Regions from separate parts of the Homo sapiens genome. Here all the other regions are linked to region 5. The links are contacts of gene promoters, found by promoter capture Hi-C in human tissues and cell types (Jung and others, 2019). All regions are on one chromosome and are shown on one strand. Each heading gives the region's core, a stretch centred on a gene start or on the middle of the fragment in contact. The rest is flanking DNA. Distances are from core to core; before and after follow the strand shown.

Evidence for each region. The method cuts DNA at HindIII sites, captures the fragments that hold promoters and counts their contacts. A contact is called where the count stands out against the background at its distance.
Region 1: a contact is called between a fragment that was not itself captured here and the fragment with the promoter of TMEM121 in region 5, in 1 of the 25 tissues and cell types used here (lymphoblastoid cells).
Region 2: a fragment that was not itself captured here is called in contact with the fragment with the promoter of TMEM121 in region 5 in 1 of the 25 tissues and cell types used here (lymphoblastoid cells).
Region 3: a fragment that was not itself captured here is called in contact with the fragment with the promoter of TMEM121 in region 5 in 1 of the 25 tissues and cell types used here (lymphoblastoid cells).
Region 4: a contact is called between a fragment that was not itself captured here and the fragment with the promoter of TMEM121 in region 5, in 1 of the 25 tissues and cell types used here (lymphoblastoid cells).
Region 6: a fragment that was not itself captured here is called in contact with the fragment with the promoter of TMEM121 in region 5 in 1 of the 25 tissues and cell types used here (lymphoblastoid cells).

What each region holds. Positions count from the first base shown.
Region 1 is chr14:106,388,473-106,391,240 of GRCh38, forward strand. It overlaps IGH and IGHV3-35. Among named protein-coding and RNA genes, the nearest start is that of LINC00221, 93 kb to the right of the region's middle. The HindIII fragment of the contact is 6,618 bases long and covers 1-2,768 here.
Region 2 is chr14:106,125,268-106,128,204 of GRCh38, forward strand. It overlaps IGH. Among named protein-coding and RNA genes, the nearest start is that of LINC00226, 160 kb to the right of the region's middle. The HindIII fragment of the contact is 3,613 bases long and covers 1-2,937 here.
Region 3 is chr14:106,282,055-106,284,754 of GRCh38, forward strand. It overlaps IGH. Among named protein-coding and RNA genes, the nearest start is that of LINC00226, 4.3 kb to the right of the region's middle. The HindIII fragment of the contact is 4,391 bases long and covers 1-2,700 here.
Region 4 is chr14:106,307,918-106,310,617 of GRCh38, forward strand. It overlaps IGH and the pseudogene IGHVIII-26-1. Among named protein-coding and RNA genes, the nearest start is that of LINC00226, 22 kb to the left of the region's middle. The HindIII fragment of the contact is 7,257 bases long and covers 1-2,700 here.
Region 5 is chr14:105,525,211-105,527,932 of GRCh38, forward strand. It overlaps TMEM121 (transmembrane protein 121), which reads left to right and starts at 1,373. Exons shown (of 2, transcript NM_025268.4): 1 at 1,373-1,443. The HindIII fragment of the contact is 20,488 bases long and covers 1-2,722 here.
Region 6 is chr14:106,165,561-106,168,337 of GRCh38, forward strand. It overlaps IGH and IGHV3-16. Among named protein-coding and RNA genes, the nearest start is that of LINC00226, 120 kb to the right of the region's middle. The HindIII fragment of the contact is 8,876 bases long and covers 1-2,777 here.

The sequences.
Region 1 (2,768 bases), core at 35-2,534, 860 kb after region 5:
TTTACATGTGGGATCTAAAATATTCAAGCTCTTGAAAGCAGAGAGTAGAATAGTGGGTCCCAGGACCTGGGAGGTGAGGGAAATTGGGTGATGTGTGTTAAATTGTACAGAGTTTCAGTTGTGCAGGTTGGATGAGTTCTGGAGATCTAACGTACAGCAATGGTCCTATAGTTAATACTGTATTGTAAAAATGATTGTTGCTGAAAGGGTAGATCTTAGGTGTTCTCATCAGACACTCACTCATGCAGTAAATTAAAAAAAATAATAAAATGGTAGCGCTGTGAGGTGATAGAAATACAAATTACCTGACCACCATGCGTATTTCACAATGTGTATCTGATATGGTTTGGATTTGTGTCCTGCCCCAAATCTCATGTTGTATTATAATCCCCAGTTGTGAAGGGGTGACCTGGTGGGAGGTGACTGGGTCATGGAGTGGGTCTTTCATGAATGGTTTAGAACTGACTCCTGGTGCTGTTCTCATGAAAATGTGTGAGTTCTCACAAGGGAATCCCCTTGAGGTTACTGTCCTGAGTCTGACTGGAGAAGACTCACCAGGCACCCCTGAGCTTCCTCACGACTCTGATGCTGGTGACCATGGTTGAGGACCTTTCATTCCCATAGGTGGCAATATACATATTGTGCATGTGAGAACGAGTCCTCATATACAATGATTAAAAAAATGTAGAGATGACATTGGTGGGCACAGAAATCTAAAATTAAAGAGTTTCCCTAGAGAAACTGTCAGAAGCAGAGGAAGTCCCAAATCCTGACAGGAAACAAACCCCAGCCTCCATGTGCACCTGCTCTGGGGTTGACTCTGATGAGTGGGTCCTGAGCGCCCCCTGCAGCTGATTTCCCCCAACGTTCCTGCAGGAGGTTTGTGTCTGGGCTCACACTTCCGACCTCTCACAGTGTTTCTCACACAGTAATACACAGCCGTGTCCTCGGCCCTCAGGCTATTCGTTTGCAGATACAGGGTGTTCCTGGAATTGTCTCTGGAGATGATGAATCGGCCCTTCACAGAGTCTGCATAGTGCGTCCTACTGCCATTCCAACTAACACCCGATACCCACTCCAGCCCCTTTCCTGGAGCCTGATGGACCCAGTTCATGTCACTGTTACTGAAGGTGAATCCAGAGGCTGCACAGGAGAGTCTCAGGGATCCCCCAGGCTGTACCAAGCCTCCCCCAGACTCCACCAGCTGCACCTCACACTGGACACCTGCAAACACAGAGACACCCTGGTCAGAAACTGCCACACAAATCCACTGTTTCTCTCACTCATGTCCACTCACTCAATATCCTTAGTTCTTCATGAATCACCTTTTAAAATAGCAGCAAGAAAAACCCAGCTCAGCCCAAATTCCATGGTAATTTGTTTGTTGCTGATGACAAAGTGGAAACACCTGAGAATCCCAGGGCTGGTGCTTCTCTCCCAGGGCTGCAGGGTCAGGACTGGGCTGCTTTTTATCAGGAAAGGGGGGGCCCTATTTGCATGTCTCCTATTTCACAGCGAGCTCTGAAGTGGGACACCTGAGGAGAGGACTGAGCCCAGAGTAATGAGAGTGAAACAACAAGCCTGAACAACTACAAATAAAGAAAAAAAAACACACTTGAACATATCAGAGTTGATGTCACAGAGCAAACATAAACTGTAAATTTGAGGAGATATAGCTTGGCAGGGAGACCCAGGATGCATATATGAGTGTGCCTGGGGAAGGTGCCGCTCCATGGCATTTAAGCTAACCTCAAAACATTTAGAGTTCCTTGAGGATGTACGCATTAATGGTGCTAGAGTGTGAAGCTTCTAATGCCATGTGTTGTTGCAGGCTTTCCTTACGAAGTTGGGAAATATCCCAGATGACCACACACTCACCCAAGGTGACCTCACACATCCCCAAGGTCACCTCACATATGCCCTGAATCACCTCACGCATCCCCAATTTCACCTCACATGTGCCCTGAGTCACCTCACACATCCCCAGTGTCACCTTACACATCCTGCAGGTCACCTCACACATCCACCAGGTCACCTCAAACATTTCCCAGGTCACCGCACATATACCCCACATCACCTCAGACACACCCTGGTCACCTCATACATACGTCAGGTCACCTCACGCTCACCCAAGGTCACCTCACACATCCCGCAGGTCACCTCGTAAATCCCCCAGGTCACCACATACATGCACCAGTTCACCTCACACATTCCTCAGGCACTTCACACCTGCCCCTGTTCACCTCACACATCCCCCAGGTAACCTAACACATGCACCAGGTCACCTCACATGCACCCAGGTCACTGCACACATGCCCTTTGTCACCTCACACATGCCCCAGGTCACCTCACGCATTCCCCATGTCACCTCAAACGGTCCCAGGTCACCATACACATTCCACAGGTCACCTCACATGTGCCCTAGGTGACTTCACCTGTACCCACCTCACACATTTCCAGGTCCCCACAGATGCCCCAGGTGACCTCATACCTCCTTAGGTCACCTCACACACACCCACATCACCACCAATCCCCGATGTCACCTGACATGTGCCCAAGTCACCTCACACACACCCCCAGGTCACCTCACATCCATCCTGGATCACCTCACACTCACCCGAGGTCAGCTCACACATATCCCCCACGTCACCTCACATGTGCCCCAAATCACCTTACATGCATCCACGTCACCTCACACTTGCTCTGTGTCACCTCACAAATCCCCCTGGCTTACCCGACATATCTCCCATGTCCCCTCACATGTGTCT
Region 2 (2,937 bases), core at 266-2,765, 600 kb after region 5:
TAATCATCACATTGAACTCAGAGAAACCTGGGTCCAATACACGGTTTATTGTAGCTCAGAGAAGCATCACTGACTCCCTTGAGTGGACGTTTCTTCCCTGAAACAGCTTCACTACCAAGTATACTAAAGAGATGCTATGGAGCCGCTGTGGGGTTGGATTTCTTCCTGTCAGCCTGTCATGCAGGGTGTTTGGAATGATGTAGACCTTTAAACTTAGATGCTAATCTTTCCCAGTCTTGTTGAAATGGCTGGCCACCCCCAGTCCTGTTTCTCCCCTCCACTCACCTGAATGTCTCCAAAAACCCCATGAACCTAAAGACTCTCTTTTTCATGGATGACTCTGAGGATTCTCAATCTGGTCAGTGCCACAGTCAGAGGCAGCTAATGGAGGATTCTCAGTCCACTGATATGTTGAGCCCATAACATAGGACACATATCCAAGAGTGGACAATTCATGTCAGTGCCAATCAACATTTAATTCAAGGGGCATGATTTTCAGTGCATTGAAGTTTAAAAGCTTCATAATTCTTAATAGAGGCACAAACTGAATGGTTTGCTGAAGAAGTGAGCTCATGGTTAGAAGAAAGCTGACTGCACCCAGGAAGAGTCTCTTTAAGTAAAACACCTGAAACGTGATGTCCTGAAACCTTGTGAAAATTCATTTCCTTGAGTAAAAAAACAGGAAAGCTATTCTCAAATCATTGGAAGAAAACTTATCAGAAATTTTATCAACACAGCACTCGAATTCCAGTAAGTCAATCCTTGGGTTTATGTTTCACAACTCAAGAAGCAATAAAGAAATCTACATAATTGGAAGGCTGCTCCAACAGAGGGAATTTTGTCCTATTTAATTAATAGAATAGTATTCATTCAAAGACACTCTCCTGTGGAATCTATAACTTAAACAGATCTCTGCAACCTGGAAAAATTTTCTCACTTATTTTTCTCTAGACACCCATAAATGCAAAAACACATTTTGTGTGTATGTGCATGAGTGATCTATAGAAATACTTTGCATATTAATGAAAGTTTGGAAAAATGATAACTTCATCACTTATTGTGAACTCCCACTTCACTGGTTTCCGAAATTCTCTGCCTGTGTCATGGGACAATGGGTGCCTCTGAGAATATGCTGATTTTCAGACTGAACATGTTCTCCACTCCTCACTTGACTTCATGGTTTCTTGCTGACACTGATGTCTCTATGAATGAAAACCCAACACTGATATCCAGCAGATTTTCCTCTTATGAGATTCATATTCTCTCTATCTCTTTCTTTCTCTGCATGTCTCTAACTCCCTGTTTTTCTGTGCCATTACTATTTATGGCTGAATCATCCTGAATCCTGCCGACATACTCCATCTCACATTCTGCAAATATTCTGCCTCAAAGACAATTAGGGGCAAACTCATCCTTGCCCAAGGTGGGAAAACTTTCTGGACTTCCACTAGATTTATTAGAGCCTCATATGAGAACCATGATCAAACATTATTTGCTTTTGGATTATACCTCAAATCTAAAACTGTTCTTCGTAGCGGCTATGACATTCTACATTCCCATCATTACCATTATGCAAAACAGTGTGGTGGCTTCTAAATAAATTAAAACTGAAATACCATATGACCAGCGATCCAGCTTATGGAAATACACCTAAATGGGATGAAATTACCACCCTGTGAAGATACCTGCTCTCCTGTGCTTACTGCAGCGCTATTCACAACAGCCAAGATATGGAAACTAAGTGTCTGTCGATGGACAAATGGATAAAGACAATGTGGTATGTGTACACAATATAACATTATTCTGCCTTATAAAATAAAGAGATGCTGCCATTTTCCACAAGACAAACGGATTCCCACCACCACTAGCAATGCATTGTATCCATTGCAGCCCCTCCCTGAGAGCTGGCAGATCCAGGTCCAGTAGTAAGGACTGGTTGTGATGGAGTGGCCAGAAATGGTGTAGGTGAAGCAGAGGGTAAGTGTGTGCTCTTCAGGTCCAGGGCTGACTCCTGCAGCTGCTCCTGGGACAGGGCATGTGAATACATGGGGAATCAGTCCCCGTCAGTCACATGTACCTACACTCACCCCATAGACCCACATCTGACATCTGAGACACTCACCCTGGGGGAGCCATCACCAGGCACAGGAGAAGACACAGTAATGCCATCTTCTTCATGAACACAACTCTGCATTCCCCAGATGCCTTATCCCTGTCTGAGGGGAGAGCTGTTAGCTTCACAGTCCAAAAGCATTTTATACCCTGGAGCCTAAAGGATATTTTGGATGTGGCAAAGCCTTGTACTTATAAGAGAGAGGGACATAGGTCTGACTCCCTTTGGATTTGAATATGTTTTATTGTTGTCTGTCTATTTTCAGGTTGACATGAAGCACTTCCTTGCCAAAAACTACAGTCGTGACATTTAATAAAATTTGCTTTATTCCTATTTTCCCGCCTGTGACATTTGAACTTCTGTATCAAGTGAGCAATGTGCATACCTTACAGGAGAAATTACAAAATAACTCTCTAAGTCATCAGTATCACACGAATGCTACCCTGTCCTTACTGCCAAATATCTTCTGGAAAGATTTAAGTAAAAATAAATGATAAGTTGCATTCTTAAATTAAAAGTAGCATAACGTTCAGAAACTCATGAAATCCCTTTGCCAAAGGTACTCCCACTAGAACTTACAGCCCAAGGTCTCCTTCCTCAAGGACACAGACATTCTCACCCTATGACTTGATTCATCAAAAGCCCATGTATTTCCCATTTTACCTTCAGCATTATACTCTGATTCATCACATGCCAATACAGCGAAGTATTTTAGGGGACCGATGTGCTATGCAGAAATATTCAACAGGATGTTAAAAATGTCCTAAATAGTTTCTTTACTGCCATCAGCTTGTAAATTATTTATTTTCCAAGAGACATCGGAG
Region 3 (2,700 bases), core at 111-2,610, 760 kb after region 5:
GGGCAGTTTCTACCTAGATTTCAGAAGATGTGTAGAGAACCCTATGTGCCCAGGAGGAAGCTTGCTACAGGACTGGATCCACCACAAACAACCTCTACGAAGGCAGTACCAAAGATGGGGAAAGATGGGGTTGGAACCCCATTCAGAGTCCCCACTAGGGCACTTCACAGTGGAGCTACAGAAATGCAGCCACAACCCTCAAGATCCCAGAATGGTAGATCCAAAGGCAGCTTGTACTCCCAACCTGGAACTACTTCTGGCACTTGACTCTGGCCTGTGTTATTAGCCCCATGGAATGTGCCCAGCCATAAGGATGAGATGCCTGAGGATTTTGGGACCCACTTTGTCCTGGTGTACCCTGACTAAGAACATAAAGTCAAGATAGATTATTTTGTAGCTTTAAGATTTAATATCTGTCCTGCTAGGCTTTAGGTGTGTGTGGGGCCTTTGGCCAATTTATTCCTTTTGTATTGACAATATTTACCCAATGGCAATATTGCACCTTGGAAGTACATAACTCTTTAAAACATTTTGCCAGCACGCAGCTGGAGGGAAATTGCCTTAAGACCCTGGCGAGACTTTGTAATTTTCAGTTGGAGGTTGATCAAGTTAACACTTTTGGGAACTATTTTTAAAAAAGATGATTTTGCAATCTTACAAGGATTTGAGACCAGGGGACACAAGAGTGAAATGCTACAGTTTAGGTGATTGTCCCTTCCAAATCTCACGGTGAAATGTGATCCAAAATATTTGAGGTGGGTCCTAGTAGGAGTTTTTGGATTGTGGGGAAAAGATCCTTCAGGTATGGCTTGGTATCAACCCCATGGTAATTAGTGAATTATTTCTTTATTAGCTAATTTGAAATCTGATTGTTAAAAACAGTCTAGCGACCCTCCTCCCCTCTTCTGTGCCCCCTCTCACCACAGGACACTGCCTGCTTCCCCTTTGCCTTCCACCATGACCGTAAGCTTCCTGAGGCCCTCACAAGAAGCAGATGCTGGTGCCATGCTTCTCACACAGCCTCCAAAACTGTAAGCCAAATAAGCCTCTTTTCTTTGTAAATCACTTGGCCTCAGGCATTAATTTATAGCAATGCACAGTAGACTAATACACTGTCCAAAGCAAGATACATATTCAATGCAATTTTTATCAAGTAACCAATATAATTGATTACATGTTTTAAAAAAAATCCTTAAATATATATGGAATCAAAAAACAGCCTGAATAGCAAAAGAAATCCCAAGGAAAAAGACCAAAGCTGAAAGCACCACATTCCCTGATTTCAAATTATACTACACAGATACAGTAAGAAAGACAGCATGGTACTGCTACTAAAAACAATAACAATAATAATAATGTAAAAGAATAGACAGCCAAGAAATAAAGACAAGTTTCTACAACCACCTGTTCTTTGACAAAACTGACAAAAATATGCAATGGAGAAACAACCCTCTATTCAGTAAGTGGTGCTGAAAAACTTAGACAGCCACACATAGAAGAATAAAACTAGACTTCTAGTTTTTCACCATAGACAAAAATTAATTGAATATGGATTCAATATTTAAATGTACAAACTGAAGAAAATGTAGGAGAAATTTTTCGGGACATTGGCCTAGGCAAATAAAATATGACTAAGACTTCAAAAGCATGGTGTGGTAGGTTTGGTTATTCATTATATTGAAAAATAAAGCTATCATATGCTCTGGTGATCCCACTTCTTGTCATATATTCAAAAGAAATAAAATTATTATGTCAAACACATGTTCACTGCAAGATTATTTATAATAGTGTAGATTTGTAAAATAATTTAATGACCACAGATTGATGAATGTGTAAAGAAAATGTGTACACAGAAAACTGAATTTTATTAGGCTTTGAAAAGAAGGAAATTCTGACATTTGCAACAACAGGGATGGGGCTAGAGGACATGATGCTTAGTGGAATAAGCCAGATGCAGAAAGACTTAATGATCTCATTTACATGTGGGATCTAAAATATTCAAGCTCTTGAAAGCAGAGAGTAGAATAGTGGGTCCCAGGCCTGTGAGGAGAGGGAAATCAGATGATGTCGGTCGAAGGGTAGAGGTCCAGTTGTGCAGGGTGAATGAGTTCTGCAGATCTAATGTACTGCAATGTTCTTGTATTTAATGCTGTATTGTAAATGTGATTTTTGCTAAACGGGTAGATCGTAGGTGTTCTCATGAGACACACACACATACACACACATGTAGTACATTTTAAAAAAATAAAATGGTAGCTCCATGAGAAAATGGATATACAAATTACTTTGGCCATGATGAGCATTTCACAATGTGTATCTGATGTGGTTTGGATCTGTGTCCTGCCCCAAATCTCATGTTGTATTATAATCCTCAATTGTGAAGGTGGGACCTGGTGGGAGATGACTGGGACATGGGGTGGGTCTTTCATGAATGGTTTAGAACAAACTCCTGGTGCTGTTCTCATGACAGTGTGTGAGTTCTCATAAGATCTAGTTGCCTAACAGTGTGTAGACCTTCCCTGCTTCCTGTGGCTCCTGGTCTGGCCATGTGACGCACCTGCTCCCCTTTGTCTTCTGCCATGATCCTAACTTTCCTGACTCTCCCCAGAAGGAGAAGCCACTACACTTCCTGTACAGCCTGCAGAACCGTGAGCCAATTAAACACACTTTTTTTCTCAAATCCCTCAGTCTCAGGCATTT
Region 4 (2,700 bases), core at 55-2,554, 780 kb after region 5:
AGGTAGATGAGCGTATTCTAAGGAGAACTGTTATACTTCTAAACTTGGTTGGCTTCAGTGATTATGAAAAGAAGGGAACTGATTCACCAGACTTGGAAGACAGAAAGTAAAGGGACTTTCTTTTTCTGCATGGAGACTGAGGAAGATAAATGGCTTTCAAAGAAGAAGGGAAGGTGGAGAAACAGTCTGAAAAACAGGACACTGGAAGCCAAACAAAGTGGAGAAACAGAGCCTTTAAAGTGCTGTTTATTTTCCACAAACAGCAGATGAAAGAAAAAGAAACAAAACACCATGCATATGCTGAGTTAAAGTTAGAAAACATATACAATTGTTTGACTATTACAGCACAAAAACACAAAACTCTATTCATGGAAATAGTCTGTATTGAGGATATGCATTTTTTTTTCTAAGACAGGGTCTCACTCTGTCACCAAGGCTGGTGTGTGGAGGCACAATCATAGCTCACTGCAGCCTCAACCTCCCAGGCTTAAGGAATCCTCCCTCCTCAGCCTTTTAAGTAGCTGGTTGCACCAATCTCAGCTATTTCTTCTTTTATGTATAGAAAGCATCTCACCATGTTGCCAGGCTGTTCTAAAACTCCTGAGCTCAAGTAATCTGTCTGCCTCAGTCTCCCCAAGTGCTGGGATTACAAGTGTGATTTAAAAAATTTTACTATTTTAATAATAGTATTATTTTTAATAATTAAAATATATAAATAACCTATTTTAATAATTGTCCCGAGAGATCATTGCTAGTATTACTCAGAAAATACGCAGCAATAAAAGTTGCATTACATCCCTGTTCTAAGTTAGTGTTTTGTAGGTAAAAGAAATCATGGAATTAAAAGGAAAAATCAGACATCCTGGGGAAGACTTTTGCTTGACCAGGTCAGGAATTTCCAGGGTCTGAAAGGAAATCACAGCCTCTGAAGCTCCTGATGTGCAGCTGCCTCCTAAGAGAACCTGCATGTCCTGAGCGTCCCCTGGTGGTTCTGAGCGCCCCCTGGTGACCTGAGCCCAGAATTGTTGTCTTTAGCACCACCTATGTCCTGAGCGCCCCCTTGTGGTTCTGAGCACCCATTGGTGGTCCTGAGCGCCCCCTGTTGGTTCTGAGTACCCCCTCTTGTCCTGAGCGTCCCCGAGTGTTTCTGAGCGCCCCCTGGTGTCCTGAGCGCCCCCTGGTGGTGCTGAGCGCCACCTGGTGGTTCTGAGCGCCCCCTGGTGGTTCTGAGCGCCCCCTGGTGGTTCTGAGTACCCCGTGGTGACATGAGTGCAGTAGTGTTGTCTTGAGCGCCACCTAGTGTCCTGAGCGTCCCCTAGTGGTTCTGAGCACCCCCCTGGCGTCCTGAGCGCTCCCTAGAGGTCCTAAGCACCCCTTGTTTCCTGGCCACCCCATGGTGGTTCTGAGCAGCATCTACCACGCAGTTCCCTCCTGTCTCTCTGCAGAGATTTTTGTGTCTGGGCTCAGACAGATCTTCCCTCCCCTGTGTCCCTCACTGTAATATACGGCCTTGCCCTTGGCTTTCAGGTTGGTCCTTGTAAGGTAGACTGCACTTGAAAGGGTGTCACTTGGGAATGTTGATTTATCTGTACTCATGGAGAGTAACCCTTAGAACTCCCATATGATCTCTCACTGTTGCTACCCACACCAATTCCTGTTGTGAAGTGTGCTGGACCAAGCTCATGCTGCACCCAGTAAACCCGAAACCAGAGGCTTTGCAGGACAGTCTCAGTGAACTGCTGGGCTGTTAAATTTTTCTCCTTCTGACTCCATCAGTAAACATCACACAGGACTTCTGTGAATACAGAGGAAACAGACTGAGAACAGCCACAGCTGGACCTGATTCACAAGGCACACTAATATTGAGGGGGATGAGAAGGGAATCCAGATCAGTGCAGACCCCATGGTGTGGACACTAAGGAAGGGCAGAGACATGGGGTGGCTCCATACCAGGGCCTGAAGGAAGAGGGCATGAGCTGCCTTTCATGAGGAGGAGTGGGGACACATTTCCATGTCTTCATGTTTGTGGTCATGGGTACACTGCTCAGCACTGCTCATCCATCCTCTGTGTCTACATTTCGGGAGGGCAGGGTCAAAGGATTTCTGGGTCTGGATGCACAGGGTTATTCTGCCCATTACTCTTTTTTATTCTTTAATGTGGATACTGTTCAGGTATCTTCATAGTAGCAACATTATCAACAAATATGTCCAGTAAGAAAATAAAAATACATTTCCAGAGAAAATGGACACCTGTCTCTAACTGGTGCATTTAGAGCTGCAAATTACTGTTTTTGACAATAAGGCAAAGTTAGGTTACAACAAAAAAAATACAGATCTACACTTTATTAGGGAGGGGATTTATAATTACCATTATCTTGAGATCATTTTGCCACAAAACAATTCAACATTGAATATATGTGCCTGTGTAAGGAAACAGTAAATGTGGACATATGTGTACTTATCTGAGTGAAGAGTTCACATGGAGACATATTTGCTTGTCTGAGACAAGAGTCCACATGAGGAAAAGTCTGTTTTCTGAGGAAAGCGTAAATGTAAGGACATACATGGTAGTCTGAGGAAAGTGTCCATGTGGGGACATGTGTTTTTGTCTGAGGGAAGAATCCACATCAGTAAAGGTGTGTTTGTCTGACAGAAGACTCCACGTGTTGACAGGTGTGTGGACTCATCTGAGGGTAAATG
Region 5 (2,722 bases), core at 123-2,622:
ACTCAAGCAATTCTCCTGCTTCAGCCTCCCGAGTAGCTGGGATTACAGGTGTGTGCCACCACGCCCGGCTAATTTTTATATTTTTAGTAGAGATGGGGGTTTCACCATGTTGGCCAGGCTGGTCTCGAACTCCCGACCTCAGGTAATCCGCCCACATCGGCCTCCCAAAGTGCTGGAATTACAGGTGTGAGCCACCACGCCCAGCCCATGGATTGCTTTCTACTGCTTCTCCCTGCCCACCATCTCTCCAGCGACAGGGGACCACATCTCCTGGGGCTGGAAAGGAAGGCTCTTCTGCCTCAGCGTTTTAGGTGCTTGTAAACCCTATGCCTTGGTCATGGCTTTGGTGGGATACCTAGGGGCTGGGGCATCAGAGAATGGAGAAGAGTAAAAAAACAACCACTACCAAAAAACCCCATCCTCCCAAACCCTAACATCCCCCCGGGCATTCTCCTGCACCCTGGGAGCATTAGGCGACCTTTTTCTTTCCTCCCCTTGTGCCAGGACTAGAGAACTTCTGGAGCTCTCTGTCCTCTTCTGGCTTTCAGGCCGTGTTGAGTCCAGGCCCGGGGATACGGGAAGAGAATCTGGAAGTTCACTACCAGTTGGGTGGTGCCTCAAATTCTGGTCTTTCCACCAAATCTGGTGTCCCTTTACCTCTCTGACCCTCAGTCTCCTCCTATGTCAGAGGGAAGTCACAGCAGTTCTGGGAAGGAGGGCAGGCAGGCAGAAGGTGCCCTCGGGTTCTTCTCTGGCTCACACGGGATGGACAGGATGTGGGGGGAGGGGCTTAGTGCCACCTCAGTGACAAAATGAAGCCCAAGTCCCCAAACCCTAGCTTGCCTCCTGGACGGGCTGGAGAAGAAGGTGGGGGCCGCTCATCATTCCTTTCCTCTGCCCTGAGAAGAAACCTGGGAAGGCTGGGTTTCTCCCCAAAGAGGACAGAGGGTGGCGCGGAGGGCCCCGGCGGCCAGGCCAGCCCCGCGCCTACATCCCTGTCAGCTCCTGGGCCGGTGGGCGCCTGTCCGGCTGAGTGGGGTCGCTCTAGGGGGCGGCAGCGGAGTTTCAGGGCGCGGGGGGCACTGGGCGGGACCCTGGGATTCTGGGCGGTGGGTGAGGAGGGTGGAGACGGGACTCCGCGCCTGGGGGTGCGCGAGGGCGCCCCGCTCCCCAGAGCCACCAGTCCTGCGCGCCGCCGCGCGGTGCTGTCGCCGTGGCAACCGGCGCTGCGGAGGGGGCGGGGCACCGGCACCCCCGCGCTCCCAGGTCCCCAGGTCCGGCGGGGCTCGCGGGCCGAGGGGCGCGGGGCGGGGCCTCTGGGTCGGGGGCGGTGCCGCGCGGGCGGGGGAGGGGCGCGGCGGGAGGAGCCGGCGCGGCCCCGGCAGTGGCGGCAGAGGCTGGGCGGGCGGGCCCGGGAGCGGCGCAGCATCTGCGGGCGGCGGGGTAGGCGCGGGCGCGGGCGGGACTGGCTGGGTGCGCGGCTGCGTCCGCGGAGGGGGCGGCGGGCCTGGGCGACCCTGCACCTCTGGGCCGTGGGGACTGTGGGGTGGGGCGGGGGCCGATGCGGCAGGGGTGAGGCCTGGGGCCGGCGGGGTGACGGGGACCCGGCCCTGCGTGGGGAAGCCTCGGGGGGACAAGCAGAGACGCAGCCTGCTGGGAGCGGCCCAAGCTCTGCACCGGCCCGCGGCGGGAGCACAGCAGCCCCCTCCCGCCCCTCCTCCCGGGGGCTCCGAGGGGTGGTTATGGGGCGAGGGTCCTTGCGGGGCCCGGGCAGTGAAGGGCCTGGAGGCCCCAGAGTCTGTGCCAGGTCTGAGCCGCGGGGCGTGGGGGGAGGAGGGGCCTCGGCCGGGGCCCAGGAGACCCAGGACAGGTGGGCCTGGGGCCAGGTCCCTACGGAGAGGTGGCCGGGCCGGGCTCTGGCTTGCCGGGGTAGGGGCTCCGCTAGGGGCTGGAGTCCGTCCCTTCGCCAGCGCAGAGCCCCTCGGCCCGCATCTGCCAAGTGACTGAGGATCGAGCGACAGCGTAGTGGGGCGGAGGGGCTGGAGGCACGGCCGGAAAGGGTGAGCGGCGCCGTGGCTCCCCCGCTATTTATTTGGCCCCGCCACGCGCGGAGAGGGAGGAAATTCTCAGGCTGCGGCTGCAGCTAGGGGAGGCCCAGGTGGGCCTGGAATGGGCCCAGAGAGGGCTTCCTGGGTCAGACGTGTAGATCCAGTGGACGTGAAAACCGGGTGAGTGTCCCGGTGGGACCCAGAGCGCGGGGAGGCTTGGAGGCAGGGGCATGGGCTGAGGACCCTCAAGGCACCCTCCTCGCGACCTGTCAGAGCTCCGAGGGGTGGGGGTGTCCTGTGTGTGGCTGTGGGGATCCTGGGCGGCGGGTGCTGGGTGGGGGCAGGGGTGGGAGTGCAGAGTTCAACGCTTTCCCGGATCGGTGGGGCCTGCGGTGTCACCAGGGCAGTCCGAGCGCCCGACTGTCACGGGGACATTAAATTTTATGCCTTTGTCTAGACACGGCAGTAAACGGAGCCCCAGGCCTGGGGCTGTGGAGGGGGTGAGGGGCTGGCTGGGAGTAAGCCTGTCAGTGACTTTGGGGTGGGTGCGGGTGTGCGGGCCTCCATTGTCACCCAGGTGTGCACAGGCCCAGGTGCGGGGACTCCGACAGCACGGCCATGAGGACCAGTGCCAGGTGTGTGACAGAGGTGCAGGGGCCTGTGGAAGCCCGACG
Region 6 (2,777 bases), core at 152-2,651, 640 kb after region 5:
TCTCTCACTCATGTCCACTCACTCAATATCCTTAGTTCTCCATGAATCACCTTTTAAAATACCAGCAAGAAAAACCCAGCTCAGCCCAAATTCCATGGTAATTTGTTTATTGCTGTTGACCCAATAGAAACACCTGAGAATCCCAGGGCTGGGGCTTCTCTCCCAGGGCTGCAGGGTCAGGGCTGCGCTGCTTTTCATCAGAAAAGGGAGGGTCCTATTTGCATGTCTCCTATTATATAGCAAGCTCTGAAGTGGGACACCTGAGGAGAGGACTGAGCCCAGAGTAATGAGAGTGAAATAGCAAACCTGAACAACTACAAATAAAAGAAAAAAAAAAACCTTCAACATATCAGAGTTGATATCATGGAGCAAACATAAACTGAAAATTTGAGGATAGGGGTTGATAGGGAGACCCAGGATGCATATATGAGTGTGCCTGGGGCAGGTGTCGCTCCATGGCATTTAAGCTAACCTGGAAACACTTAGAGTTCCTTGAGGATGTGCGCATTAACGGTGTTGGAGTGTGAAGCTTTTAGTGCCATATACTGTTGCAGGCTTTCCTTACGAAGTTTGAAATATCCCAGATGACCTCACACTCACACAGTGTGACCTTGCACATCCCCAAGGTCACCTCACACTCACCCAAGGTGACCTTGCACATCCCCCAGGTCACCTCACATGTGCCCTGAGTCACCTCACACATCCCCAATGTCACCTTACACATCCCCCAGGTCACCTCACACATTCCTGTGGCCACCTCACACAAGTCCCTATTCACCTCACACATCCCGCAGGTCACCTCGTAAATCTGCTAGGTCACCACACACATGCACCAGGTCACCTCATGCATTCCTCAGGCACTTCACACCTGCCCCTGTTCACCTCACACATCCCCCAGGTAAACTAACACATGCACCAGGTCACCTCACATGCACCCAGGTCACTGCACACATGCCCTTTGTCAGCTCATACATTTCCCTAGGTCACCTCACACATCCCCCAGGTCAACTCAGATGTGCCTTAGGTGACCTCACATGTGCTCAGGTCACCTCACACGTCAGGGGGGTCACCTCACATATACCCCATGTCACCTCACACACACTCCTGCTAAGCTCACACACCCCCCACGTCACCTCGAATGCTCCCAGGTCACCTCACACATTCCCCCAGGTCACCTCACACATTCCCCATGTCACCTCACACGTCCCCCAGGTCACCTCACACGTCCGCCAGGTCACCTCACACATGCCTGAGGTCACATCATACATATCCAAGTCACCTCACGAATTCCCCATGTCACCTCATACATGTCCAGGTAACCTCACACGCACCCAGGCCACCACACATGCACCCTGGGTCACCTCACATGTGCCCAAGTTCACTGCACACATACCCCCAGGTAACCTTACACCTCCCCCAAGTCACCTCACTGTCACGTGACCAGGGCACCTCACCTTCATACAGGTCCATTCACACATGCTATCATACATGCATACATTATGGAATTGTTAATCAAGCTATTTAACATATCCAGCACCTCATAAATGTATTTCTTTTTTTTTTTGAGACTGAGTCTCACTCTGTCACCCCGGTTGGAGTGCAGTGGTACGATCTTGGCTCACTGCAGCCTTTGCTTCAAGCAATTCTCCTGTGGTGAACACCACGCCTGGCTAATTTTTGTGTTTTTAGTGGAGACAGGGTTTCACCATCTTGGCAAGTCTGGTCTTGAACTCCTGACCTTGTGATCCACCCACCTCGGCCTCCGAAAGTGCTGGGTTTACAAGTGTGAGCCCCCGCTCCCGACCTGTATAATTTCTTAGTGGGAAAAAATTTTAACATTTGCATGTTTAGCCATTTTGAAATATATAATGCATTCACAGCCATATTTTCCATCTTGTGCATTAGAACACTGTAACTTACTCCTTCTGTCTAACTGGAACATTTTACACTTTGACCACAATCTCTCCTTTTCCAGTCCACCCCTCCAGCCCCTGGTAACCAACATTCTATTCTACTTCTGTGAGTCTACCATTTAAACAAACTACAGTGAAATCACGAATCACTTGTCTTCTGCGCCTGCTTGTTGCACTTCACGTGTGGTCCTCTAGAGTCATGATTGCTATCGCATTTCAAAACCAATCATGCCTGTTCAAGAGTCCGCCAAAGTCTTAACTCATTTGAGCCTTAACTCAAAAGTCCACAGTCCAAGGTCTCATTTGAGATGAGGCAAGTCTCTTCCATCTATGAGCCTGTAAAATAAAAACCAAGTCAGTTACTTCCTAGAAAGAATGGGAGTTCAGGCATTGTGTAAATACAGCCATTCCAAATGGAGAAATTGGTCCAAACTACAGGTCCCATGCAAGTCTGAAATCCAGCTGGGAAGTCAAATCTTAATGTTCCAAAATAATCTTCTTTGACTCCATGTCTCAAATCCAGGTTACCTGATGTAACAAGTGGGTTCACATGGTCTTGGGAAGTTCTGCCCCTGTGACAGAACTTTTTTAAAACTTTTCAAATGAAAAGTTTTAAAAAACTTTTGCAGGGCACAGTCTCCCTCCTGGCTGCTTTCACGAGCTGGCATTGAGGGTATGTGGTTTTTCCAGAAACATGGTGCAAGCTGTCAGTGGATCTACCATTCTGGGTTCTGGAGGGCAGTGGCTTTCTTCTTACAGCTCCACTAGGTGGTACACCAGTAGAAACTCTGTGTGGGATTTCCGACCCCACATTTCCCTGCCACACTGGGACTAAAGGCTTGTGCCACAATACCTGGCTAATTT